Regions from separate parts of the Homo sapiens genome. Here regions 1 and 3 are each linked to region 2. Evidence: promoter capture Hi-C in 16 types of primary human blood cells and fetal thymus (Javierre and others, 2016). All regions are on one chromosome and are shown on one strand. The core of a region is centred on a gene start or on the middle of the fragment in contact, and the rest is flanking DNA. Distances in the headings are between cores, read along the strand shown. Region 1 holds the start of ITGAD (integrin subunit alpha D). Region 2 holds the start of ZNF267 (zinc finger protein 267). Region 3 holds the start of RUSF1 (RUS family member 1).

Region 1 (3,712 bases), core at 922-3,421, 480 kb before region 2:
CTCGAAGTTAGCAATCACAGCCCTCGGCTCGGTTTCCTGCAAGGGCATCGTTAATGCATCACAATTAATTTCTTCTGTCCATTAAATGTCAGCTCTCAAGTAAATTGATGTAAAATTTTTGTATAGAAAACTATTTCATATTATTTGCACTTGATGTTTAATTACATTTTAAATGTTTTGTTTGTTTCATTTTGTTTTGTTTTTGAGACAGAGTCTTGCTCTGTTGCCCACGCTGGAATGCAGTGGTGTGATCTTGACTCACTGCAACCTCTGCCTCCTGGGTTTAAGCGATTCTCCTGCCTCAGCTTCCTGAGTAGCTGGGATTACAGGCGTGCACCACCATGCCTGGCTAATCTTTGTATTTTTAGTAGAGATGGGGTTTCACCATGTTGGCCAGGCTGGTCCCGAACTCCTGACCTCAAGCTATACACCTGCCTCAGCCTCCCAAAGTGCTGGAATTACAGACATAAGCCACTGTGCCCAGCCAAATGTTTTAAATAATTGTCACATATATATACAAAATAATTTATGTTATAGGTAGGGATCTTGTTATATTTTAACCTTCAAAGTATATTCCTAAGCTTTTTATTTATTTTTTATTTTTTATTTATTGAGACAGTCTTGCTCTGTCGCCCAGGCTGGAGTGCAGTGGCGCAATCTTGACTCACTGCAAACTCTACCTCCTGGGTTCAAGCGATTCTCCTGCCTCAGCCTCCTGAGTAGCTGGGATTACAGGTGCGCACCACCATGCCCAGCTAATTTTTGTATTTTTAGTAGAGACGGGGTTTCACCATATTGGCCAGAGCTGGTCTCAAACTCCTGACCTCAGGTGATCCATCCACCTCAGCCTCTCAAAGTGCTGGGATTATAGGTGTGAGCCACTGCGCCTGGCCTATTCCTAGCCTTTTATATATAGACCTTTTTCTTTTTCACATTTTAAAGGAACTTTTATGTTTAATCATGGAATATTTCAAACATACAGAAAAATCACAGAAAATAAATAACAACCACTCATTTATCTTCTCCCCAACCCCATGTAATAAATATTAAAATATTGTGTTAAATGCTAAATTTAACACATGCTAAAGGTTCCTGGCTGGATGTGGTGGCTCACGCCTGTAATCCCAGTACTTTGGGAGGAGGAGGTGGGAGGATTGCTTGAGTCCAGGAGCTCGAGACCAGCATGGGCAACATAGTGCGATCTCGTCTCTACAAAAAACAAAAAAATTAGCTGGGCATGGTGGTGTGCATCAGTAATCCCAGTGACTGGGAGGCTGAGGTGGGAGAATTGCTTGAGTCTGGGAATTTGAGGCTGCAGTGAGCCCTGATCATGCCACTGCATTCCAGCATGGGCGACATAGCAAAACTTGTCAAAAAAAAAAAAAGTTTCCTCTCTGCCCCACCATAGACAACCACTCTTCTGATTTCTATCTTCGTAGATGAATTTTGCCCATTCTCTTGTATATGAAAGGAACCAGACATTAGGCATTCTGGTGTCTGGTTTCTTTCACTTAAGATAAAATTGAGTTAACCTGTATTGTTGTACAGAACTGCAGTTTGTTCTTTGTTATTTATTGTAAAGACAGGGTCTGGCTATGTTGCCTAGGCTGGTCTCGAACTGTTGGCCTCAAGCAATCCACCTGCCAAGCTCTGGGACCACAGGCATGAGCCATGGCATCTGATCTGTAGTTTGATCTTATTTCTTGCTGAGTAGTAGCCCATGGCATGACTTTATTATTTTGGGTGTCCATTCTCCTCTGGAGGGGCTCTGCTTTTTGAAACCACACCCTGGCCTAGCTCCCCTTCTCCCTGCCTCTCTGCCGGCTCACATCCACATGCCAAGACCTCTGCAGCCATTCTGCTTCCTGTCCTTCCACTCCTGTGGGACCTCAGAGAGCTACGGGGCTCCCTGGGTACCAACTGGCTCCTGAGGCCTGGGGGAGGGTGGTCTTCTGGGAGAAGGAAGCCAGGTCCCTGCAGGTTGTGGAGGGGGACAGAATGAGGGTTTTTCCCCAGGGTGTTGTTGGCCCCTGCCCCCACTTCTGTTCCATAATTAACCACGCCCCTCCTACCCACTGTGCCCCTCTTCCTGCTGTGTGGAGGCCCTGAATCATTATTTTAACTACCCCCTGGGAGGGTGAGCACCTTCTGTGCTCTGTCCCCAACCTTCCACTTCCCCTCAACGCGCTGCTCAGGGATGACCTTCGGCACTGTGCTTCTTCTGAGTGGTAAGTGGGGCCAGGGTGCTGGGGAGAAGCTTGGAGGAGTTCTGAGGGGACTCCATCTGGGAGGGCAGGCTGGGGGCTGGTGGTCGGCTCCAACCACTCTTATGAGGAGCTGAGGCAGGGGAGTGCTTCATGTGCGAGTGGCCCGGAGTCAGTAGAGTGTGACCTGAATGAAGAGGGGCTCAGGGGCTGTGCTCAGGTGGCGACTAAGCTACCTCTCCAGCTGGCTATGTTGTCCCAGGCTTCCCTGCTCCCACTCATGGAGTCCCTGGTGTGGGTGACAGAGGTCTCCCCAGCCTCCCCCGGGAGTGGAAGGCCACAGAAGCCACCAGGGAGGGGGAAAGGTTGGACATCACCTCCCTGGGCCTGTTTCCCCCAAGTCCTGACTGCACGTAGGGAAGAGGCCCCCTGCTGAAAACTGCATCAGAGTCACATTCACGTGCCATCAAAAATCAGGCTTGGCTGGGTGCGGTGGCTCATGCTTATAATCCCAGCACTTTGGGAGGCCGAGATGGGCGTATCCCCTGAGGTCAGGAGTTTGTGACCAGCCTGGCCAACATGGTGAAACCCCATCTTTACCAAAAATATAAAAATTAGCCGGGCATGGTGGCGTGCACTTGTAATCCCAGCTACTTGGGAAGCTGAGGCAAGAGAATCGCTTGAACCCAGGAGACGGAAGTTGCAGTGAGCTGAGATCGTGCCGTTGCACTCCAGCCTCAGCAACAGAGCGAGACTCCATCTCAAAAAAAAAAAAAAAAAAAAGAAAAAAAAGAAAAAGAGGCTGGGAGGTCCTAGGGATTGGGGCTTCTTTAACTCCCAGCCTCCCCGCCCACCAAATATTCCTCAGTCCTGGCTTCTTATCATGGATTCAACCTGGATGTGGAGGAGCCTACGATCTTCCAGGAGGATGCAGGCGGCTTTGGGCAGAGCGTGGTGCAGTTCGGTGGATCTCGGTAGGCCCCACTCACCCTCCTTCCCCAACCTCCACTACATCAAGTCCTGTGGATGGGTACACGTGGGTTACCCCAGGGAGGTGTCCTGGAGGAAGGCCAGCAGGGGTGAGAAGTCTTCCCTTGGCTCCTTGGAGGCCCTGACATCAGCACCTATTATTCTCAATCCCAGGAAAGGCCACAAAACTCTAGACAAGACCCTACCTTACCTCGGGAGGGAAGCCTTGAACCTGCCTCCCAGGCAGGGCCCACTTCTTGGGGCCAGTATGGTCACACAGGGCCCACACTCATTAACTTTGGAGTTTAATGTTCTGCCCTTGACCTCTTGAAATTCCTGATTATTTTTATTTTTATTTTTACTCCAGCTCTGTTACCCAGGCTGGAGTGCAGTGGTGCAATCACAGCTTACTGCAGCCTCAAACTCTCGGGCACAAGTGATCCTCTCACCTCAGCCTCCTGAATAGCTGGGACCACAGGTGCATGCCATCATGCCTGTTTTTTGTTTTGTTTTGTTTTACTTTTTACAGAGATGGAGTC
Region 2 (3,784 bases), core at 1,147-3,646:
ATGTTCTATAATTTACTTTTAGTAATATACACATTAATTGTGTCATAAATATCAGGACCTCAAAACACCCCACCTAATGAGTGATTCTCACATATGGACCCATGGCTGCCCACCTGCTAGCGTGGGTCCTCTCACCACTCCACCCCCAGAGCTTCGATCTGTCTGGTCAACATTCTGGGACAATGAAGTAGTTAAGTCATATGGTCTGACTGTGGTCTTGGCAAATAGCTTGACTTGTTAGAAATCAAAGGCTGACTTTAAGACGTACTCAGCTGTTTGGCTAAATTGTGGCAGAAAAAAATGTCTTCTCAGCAGATATACCTTTGTATCTCTTGCTTTCAGAGTAAAAGATTGTTTCAGTCACAGTAGTTTGAGTTAATCTGTATTGAAAATCATCAACAGCTTACAAATACTGAAAGGGGACAAAAATAATTTGCAGACACATTGAGTCCATTATAAGTGCTTTCAAATCTCTCCTATAAGAAATGAAAAATAGAATGTTAGGCCTTGATTTCTTAAACTCAGCCTTCAGCCATTTTCCCAAATTATTCTACATGTTTCCAAGACATTTCAGAAGCATTCTCTGGTGGGGATTATTTCCAATTGTGAAGAGTACTAGAAGGATGAGAATCAAAAGGAATCTTTCTTCTATCGCAAAAGAGTCAATCTCCAGGATTTCAAAGGCCTAGGGAAGCTGCTTGAGTTGTGAGGTCCATGGAGGTGCATGGGCTTTGGAGTCAGGCAGAGTTGATCCTGAGTTCCAGCCCAGCCCCTTAGTAGGCCCTAAGGACTCCCGTGGTGCTGTCACAAGCAGTGCTGCCTTTGGGAGCCCCTAACCTCCTGTCTTTTCTCCCTTCAGTGTGGGAAAGGGGTTTGGTCAGCCAGTGGTGTCAGCAGCCCTGTCCCACACCCGTTGTCTACACCTAATCTGGTGGCAGGGAGGCCACAGAGTGCAGCGACTAGAACTGGGTGAGAGGGTGAGAGGCAGCCATGCCCCAGGCCAAGACAAGTGCATGGAATCCTGACTGTCAGCAATCAGGGATGTTTCTGCTTTGGGGAGGGAAGCATTTGTTCCACACGTCTCACTGAATAAGGCACAGAGCCTGATCTGTCCCAAGTGGGAGTTTAACCAAGCTAGATGGCGGCCGAGGGCCCTGGCCCAGTTTGACACCCACCTCCTCTCCCACCTTCTACTCAGCCAGAAGACTAGGAGAATCTACTCAGCCGGAAGACTACGAGGTGCTGCAGCGCCACTAGCTCCAAGACTCCAGAAAAACAGGAATAGGGCATTCTGGCAGGTCAAAGCAGACAGAATACTTGAGCTCAGGAGTTGGCGAACTGACTATTAACCTGTAGCCCCAGTTACTTGGGAGGCTAAGGTGGGAGGATCGCTTGAGCTCAGGAGATGGAGACCAGCCTGGGCAACATGGTGAAACCTCATCTCTACAAAAAATACAAAAATCAGCCGGGCATGGTGGCATGTGCCTGTAGTCCCAGCTACTCAGGAGGCTGAGGTGGGAAGATTGCTTGAGCCCCGGAGGCTGCAGTGAGCCATGACTGCACCACTGCACCAGCCTGGGCAATAGAGTGAGACCCTGTCTCAAAACAAAAGCAAAAACCAGAGGTAGGGCTGAGGAGTCCGTGGCCACAGAGCCTGAGCCAGCACGGCCCAGAGGAACTGAGCTCCCAGCCCTGTCGCTGCCAAGGACCCTTCTTCCCTGAGCTTGAAGGGATTGAGAAGGAGAGACAGACGGACAGTCAGCGGCCCCGTTACCAGTGATGCAGACTCCAGGAGATGCGGGCAGAGTTGTAGATTAGAAGAATAGGCCAGCCCCTCTTCCACGTTCCACCACGGCCCGCAACATCCTCCTGGGACCCCAGCCTGCATGCCCCTATAAGATGCTTTTGCACTGGTTCAGTCTATGTATCATGCGAGGGCCTAATTGAAAACACGTGAATGAAGTGTACGGCCTTCTGTTCCCAGCTGAGGGGCCCCCTCCCACGGTGGCGTTAGCAGTGGGGTACAGTGCGGTAAGAGAGGTGCTAAGGGACGGGATGAGGGTCTTTCTTGCTTTAAAGGTGTCTAAATATACTTCTTCTTAAACTTAATTAGCTAATAAGATGTCTTATACAAGCAGAACCAGGTAAGGGAAAGAGCAAGTGTATTTCAAGTCGCAGCTCACCCCTTAATTAGCTGTAATACCCGCAGCAGGCGGCCCCACCTCAATGAGCCAGTCTCCCTTTCAAAAAAAAAAAAAAAAAAGGCACTAATAATGAGGGGGCGGGGCATGGAGCTTTATCCAATCAGGGGCGCTGGAGTGGAAACCGTCCAATCAGGAGTGAAGCCGGAGAGCAGGGGCGGCTTCCGGGATTTGGCGGGGGCCTTCGTCGGCTCCAGTTAGAGCTCGGGTCTCCTCGCCACAGCTCCGAGTCTTTCGTTCTGGGAGGCCCAGGCGGCTTCGCGTTCTGAGAATAAACAGAACCTCTGTTGCTCTGCGACTTGCAGGCACTGGGAGATTCGTAGCTAAGACGCCAGGGCATCCCGGAAGCTGGGAAATGGTGAGTGTGCGGGGTCGGGGGTCCCCAGAGGGAGGGAGGGCGGTGGTCGGAAGCGGCGGGAACCCGCTGTAGGGGCACCCGGGCCTCCCCGCAGTCAGCCTCGGGGTCTGGGCCCCGAGTCCCAACTGGTGCAGCTCGGCCCTCGGTCCCCTCCGCTGCAAGATGGCGGCCAGGCCGGCAGCCGGGACCCCGCGTGTCCTGTCCCATCCCGACCCCGCAGAGCGACCTCGTCCCTGGCCGGAGCCCTCTCTGGGCAGCTCCGCGTCGCAGCCCCGCGTCTCCCCCAGATTGTGCGGTGAGGACGGGAGCGTCTCAGGGGAGACCCAGGTTCGGTGTGTGGGAAGAAACCGTGCCCTGTGGGGTCCTCAGTCACTACTCCTCTTAAGAATTAAAGGGAGTCACTGTTAAAACGTTGAAGAATTTGAGCAAATAGCGATTTGTGACATGGGAAGCCTGCAGTCCTGGTTTGTGGTTCGGAGATCCCCAGAGGGGCTTGAAGGAAAGGTTTTTATAAGGTGCATGAGGAAGCAGACCAAATTAACCGATGGGTTACAGTTTGTAGTTGCCTTATTTAGACTATGCAGGTGGAGGTGAATTGGAGCTTTGTGGTTCGTTAAGTCTGAATTTTGTTTTCCCCTAAAGTTGTAATTTACAAGAAAAGCATTTGAGTTTGGTTTTGGTTTTTCTCCCTAGAAACCTGGGGCACTATAACCACTTCCGTATAATCGCCTGCTCATTAATCATCTTAACACTGCCCAGGGGAACTGGTTTTCCCCCTGCGCTTTCCTAACGTGTAGCACGCAGAGTCTCAAGTCCACCACTGTGTTCCCCCAGTCTAACTGGGCTTGCAATAAAATATTAAATTTCCAGTTCCTTCCCGACATTTCCAAAGGCCAACTTCCCCTCTCCAGTTCACATTCTTAACTATTGGTCATTTATTGTACATTTCAGACAGTATTTTACTCATTAATCATGATTTCACAGAGCAGTGGATGACACTTTTTTAAAGATTTGTGTTTTTTTGGCATACATTTCACGTGAGAGGAAAGCAGAGAATAAAAAATCCCTGACACTCCACTGCAAAAAAAACTGTGCCTCTTTTTCATTCATCTTCCCCAGGCACAGACACGTTATCGGAAAGAATGTCTTTTGACTTGAGGTTTTGCTTTGGAAACTTTACAGGGCCCTGTATAGCCACCCTCTATCCAGTCTTTTCCTGTTCCTG
Region 3 (3,741 bases), core at 1,206-3,705, 370 kb before region 2:
CTATGGTTCAGAAGCTGATACAGGTGTTCTGGTGATCTGCTGTGCTGCTTAGTTACCCTGAACACACAATTTCTCACTGTATTAGTGGTATATCATGTTTTATACTGTTAAGTACTTCTGTGTGAATAGGTATAAGAAAATGACTGCTTCTTGGTAGCATATACATTCAGAGTCAGGAACGATGGGGACGCTAACCAACCAGATTGTCCACGTGTGGCTGAGACAGTGACATCTTTGCTTTCTGATGGATCAATGAACACAAACTTTGTTTCATGCACACCATTGAAAATACTGTATAAAACTGCCTTTAAGGTATGTGTATAAAGTATATATGAAACATAAACGAATTTCATGTTTAGACTTGAGTCTGATCCCCAACAAATCTCATTATATACATGAAGATATTCCAAAATCCAAAAAAAATTCCAAAATCCAAAACACTTCTGGTTGCAAGCATTTTGGATAAGGGATATTCAATCTGTATAGGCAACATGTTGGTGACATCACATGAAAACAAAAACTACTGACCCAAGCTCCAAATGCATTCCAAAAATACGGCCAACAAGCCGGGCGCAGTGGCTCACGCCTATAATCCCAGCACTTTGGGAAGCTGAGGCGAATGGATCACCCGAAGTCAGGAGTTCGAGACCAGCCTGGCCAACATGGTGAAACTCTGTCTCTACTAAAAATACAAAAAATTAGCGGGGCAGGGTGGCACATGCCTGTAATCCCAGCTACTTGGGAAGCTGAGGCAGGAGAATCGCTTGAACCCGGGAGGAGGAGGCTGCAGTGAGCTGAGATTGTGCCACTGCACTCCTGCATCCCAGCCTGGGTGACAGTGAGACTACGAGTCTGGAAAAAAAAAAATAGAGATGGGGGTCTCCCTATGTTGCCCAGGATGCCTCAGCCTCCCAAAGTACGAGGATTAAAGGCGTGAGCCACCGTGCCCGGCCCAGTTTTCTCAGTCTTAATGGTAAAGGTGTAAACAGGAAGCTCCTGTTTTCTCAAAAAAATCCAGAGAGGCTCACAAGGGATGTGGCCAGACTGATGCTACGAATGGAAAGCGCTTTTCCTTAGATCTATTAGGTTGGCTCAAATGTAATTGCGGGTTTTCCATTACCTTTAATGGCAATAACGACAAAGAAACCCCGCAATTACTTTTGCACCAGCCTAATAAATATCCCCTGCGAGCAGTAGTGAAAGACAAAGGACAGTGGCAAAAGCCATGGGGCCTCCTCGTGTAGAACATGTAACAATTTCCCTTTTCTGTTCTATTTCCCTCTCTGGGTGGCATGGTACCAAACTGTATTTTTTTTCCTTAAACAATTTTTTAAAAGCTGTACATATTCAGCAGATAGTCACTCTATTATTTACAGCATCATCTGGTATCCCAGAGCATACACAATACCTTCCATTCTTTCCAGGCTCTCCTCTCTCCTTCTCAGGACCAACTATATCTTTTTTTTCTGGAGCTCACCAATTTCCCCTATCCTGGGCAGCTGGCAGTTTTATTCCATCAATTGCATTCTTATGCAATCTTCCACAAAGAGAATAGGGATAAAGGGGAGGGGACGGGATTTGGGATCCAGATGATTGAGACTCAGAAGTCTGTGTGGGGAATGGAGTGCGGCTGCTAGGCTGGTGAGTGGGATGAGGGTCTTCCAGATGTGGGAAGTAAGACTGGGTTACAAAGCACCACTCTAATCACTGGGGAGACCTGCCTGAATTCTACCTAATGGGGCACGAGTCCATACATATATACACATAAGAGCCCAGCGAAAGCAGGGCTGAAAGCAGCAATACGTGAGGCTCCAGGGGTGCAGCTCACCTTTCACGAGCCAGGTGGCCGTGGCAGCTGAAACAGTGGCTTTTGCGTTCCCCACCCCTATGCCCAGCAAGACTGCCTGGGTGGCTAGGGAGCCGGAGAGGCTGGAAGCAAACGCCTGGAGAAGAAAACAAGTAGGGTGAGAAGCGGGCGTAGGAGCGTGGCGGTCTAAGTGCCTTCATCTGTTCTTGTTCTTGGTGTATGAGGCATGTCAGACCCCCCGCCCCCCGGGCTCCGAGTCTCAGTCACCCGTCCATTATTGGGGAGGGAGGAGTGGCCTGCACTGTCCTCTGCCCCAGACGACCGAGCTGACCTGCACGGAATCCCACAGCTGGTAGGGCAAGTAGTCCGGGCTGACGCTATCAGGGAAGCCCTGAGGCAGGAACACGGCCTGGAGCCCGGAGAGGGGCGGTGAGGGGGCCCCGGAAGCCCCCACTTCGCCCGCATCTCGTCCTTCAGGTTTGACCGTGAAGGCCCTGGAGAGCCCCCACCAGCGCCAGCCCCCGACCTCCCACTGCAGGCTCCCGTCCGCGGCGGCGCGGCAGCCCCGTGCCTCCCCGGAGCCGAACTGCTCGGAACACAGCGGGGTCTCCAAACCCGCGTCGTCAGCCATGCCGAGCTTTTGGATCCCAGCCCCGCCCCTGCCGCACGGTGGACGTGGCAGGCGGCACTTCCGGCTGGGCTACCGCGGCTGCAGAGGGACATCTTTCAAGAACAGGCGCCGGCCTCGGCGTCCGCCGCGCAGTTAGGAAACTGACTGTCGCTCTCTCCGGCCTCGGCGCTGCTTCGGACGCCCCGGCACCGGCCCCCGTTGCTTTGTAGCATTCTGCAGCTGGGCTGCAGGCGCCGTGGGCCTCCGCCAGTTGTGTTCGAGACGCGGTTCGGCCACAGAAGTTTTAGCTTGTGACTTTTGGCAAGTCAGTGGCCCTCTCTGGGCCTCAGGTGCCTTTTTTGCTGTGAGACCAGCGACTGTATTTTTAACCCTGATTTTATCCCTAGATCTACCCAACACATAGTAGGTGCTCAAAAGATATTTATGAGTGAATGAATGCATCATGAGAAGAAATTGGACCAGATGAGGCCCTGTGAAGCTGCTTGGGTCTTTTTTTGTTCTTTTTTTTTTCTCTCTTCTGAGTGTCCCTGGCCTGGACTAGAAATTCTCCATCCTTCGGCCTTCTGCGAGACTGCAGGAACATTACTTTTGAAGGATGCTAAGGAATCCGAGGGATGAAAAAAATCAAGAGATTGCAATGATGTCACAAAACAAGGAAACAAGGCAGGAAGTTCTTGTGTGTTTTTTTGCGGGAGAGAGTCCATGAAATTGGGGGGAGTCCAAAGAGGGAGTGTTTCTGTCCTTGGAACTCACCTTTTCTTCTTTCCATTTCTCCTCTTCTCCTTCCCATCTAGTGCAGCATCTTCACTCCGAAGCAGAAATTTGCCAAAAAAGCATCCTCTTTTTATCAGAAAATAAAATATCCTGGTTTCTTAGCCTGGCATTCTTGGATCCCCACAGTTTGATCCCAACCGACAACTCCTTATTTGAAACTTCAGATTCTCCCAAACCGTCACCTTCCTCGTGGACTTAATCCTGGAAGGCCCTTCTACCCCACTTCGCCTTATCTCACACAAACACAGTCTCTCTCTGACTGAGATAAACTTGAACACTTCTTTTCTTTTCTTTTTTTTTTTCTTTAAATTTCGGGTTTCAAAATACAAATGGCCTAATCACAACATTTCTGTAATGTTGTCTAAATTCAGGTACTGGTTTGAATAGAGGACAAAAATAAAACAAGGTTTGAAGACTAAGTACTTTAAAAACATATTTATTTAAATAGAGGCAGGGCCTCCCTATGTTGCCCAGGCTGCTCTCAAACTCCTGGCCTCAAAAGTGATCCTTGGGCTGGGCGTGGTGGCTC

Evidence for each region. Contacts are between HindIII fragments. The CHiCAGO score rates a contact against its expected background, and 5 or more counts as called.
Region 1: the fragment with the promoter of ITGAD here is called in contact with the fragment with the promoter of ZNF267 in region 2 in 9 of 17 cell types (monocytes, megakaryocytes, M2 macrophages and 6 more); the score reaches 6.7 in monocytes.
Region 3: a contact is called between the fragment with the promoter of RUSF1 here and the fragment with the promoter of ZNF267 in region 2, in 12 of 17 cell types (megakaryocytes, naive CD8 T cells, M0 macrophages and 9 more). The highest score is 12.4, in megakaryocytes.

The regions. Positions count from the first base shown.
Region 1 is chr16:31,391,164-31,394,875 of GRCh38, forward strand. ITGAD (integrin subunit alpha D) reads left to right here and starts at 2,172. Exons shown (of 30, transcript NM_005353.3): 1 at 2,172-2,228; 2 at 3,073-3,178. The coding sequence starts at 2,198. The HindIII fragment of the contact is 1,676 bases long and covers 580-2,255 here.
Region 2 is chr16:31,871,411-31,875,194 of GRCh38, forward strand. It overlaps ZNF267 (zinc finger protein 267), which reads left to right and starts at 2,397. Exons shown (of 4, transcript NM_003414.6): 1 at 2,397-2,559. The coding sequence starts at 2,557. RefSeq lists an enhancer at 2,218-2,512 and silencers at 2,399-2,448, 2,599-2,678. The HindIII fragment of the contact is 12,710 bases long and covers 1-3,784 here.
Region 3 is chr16:31,505,936-31,509,676 of GRCh38, forward strand. RUSF1 (RUS family member 1) reads right to left here and starts at 2,456. Exons shown (of 13, transcript NM_022744.4): 1 at 2,139-2,456; 2 at 1,829-1,943. The coding sequence starts at 2,438. RUSF1-DT (RUSF1 divergent transcript) reads left to right here and starts at 2,529. Exons shown (of 2, transcript NR_186401.1): 1 at 2,529-3,101; 2 at 3,238-3,631. RefSeq lists enhancers at 1,442-2,157, 2,158-2,872, 2,437-3,006 and silencers at 2,167-2,226, 2,287-2,336. The HindIII fragment of the contact is 29,640 bases long and covers 1-3,741 here.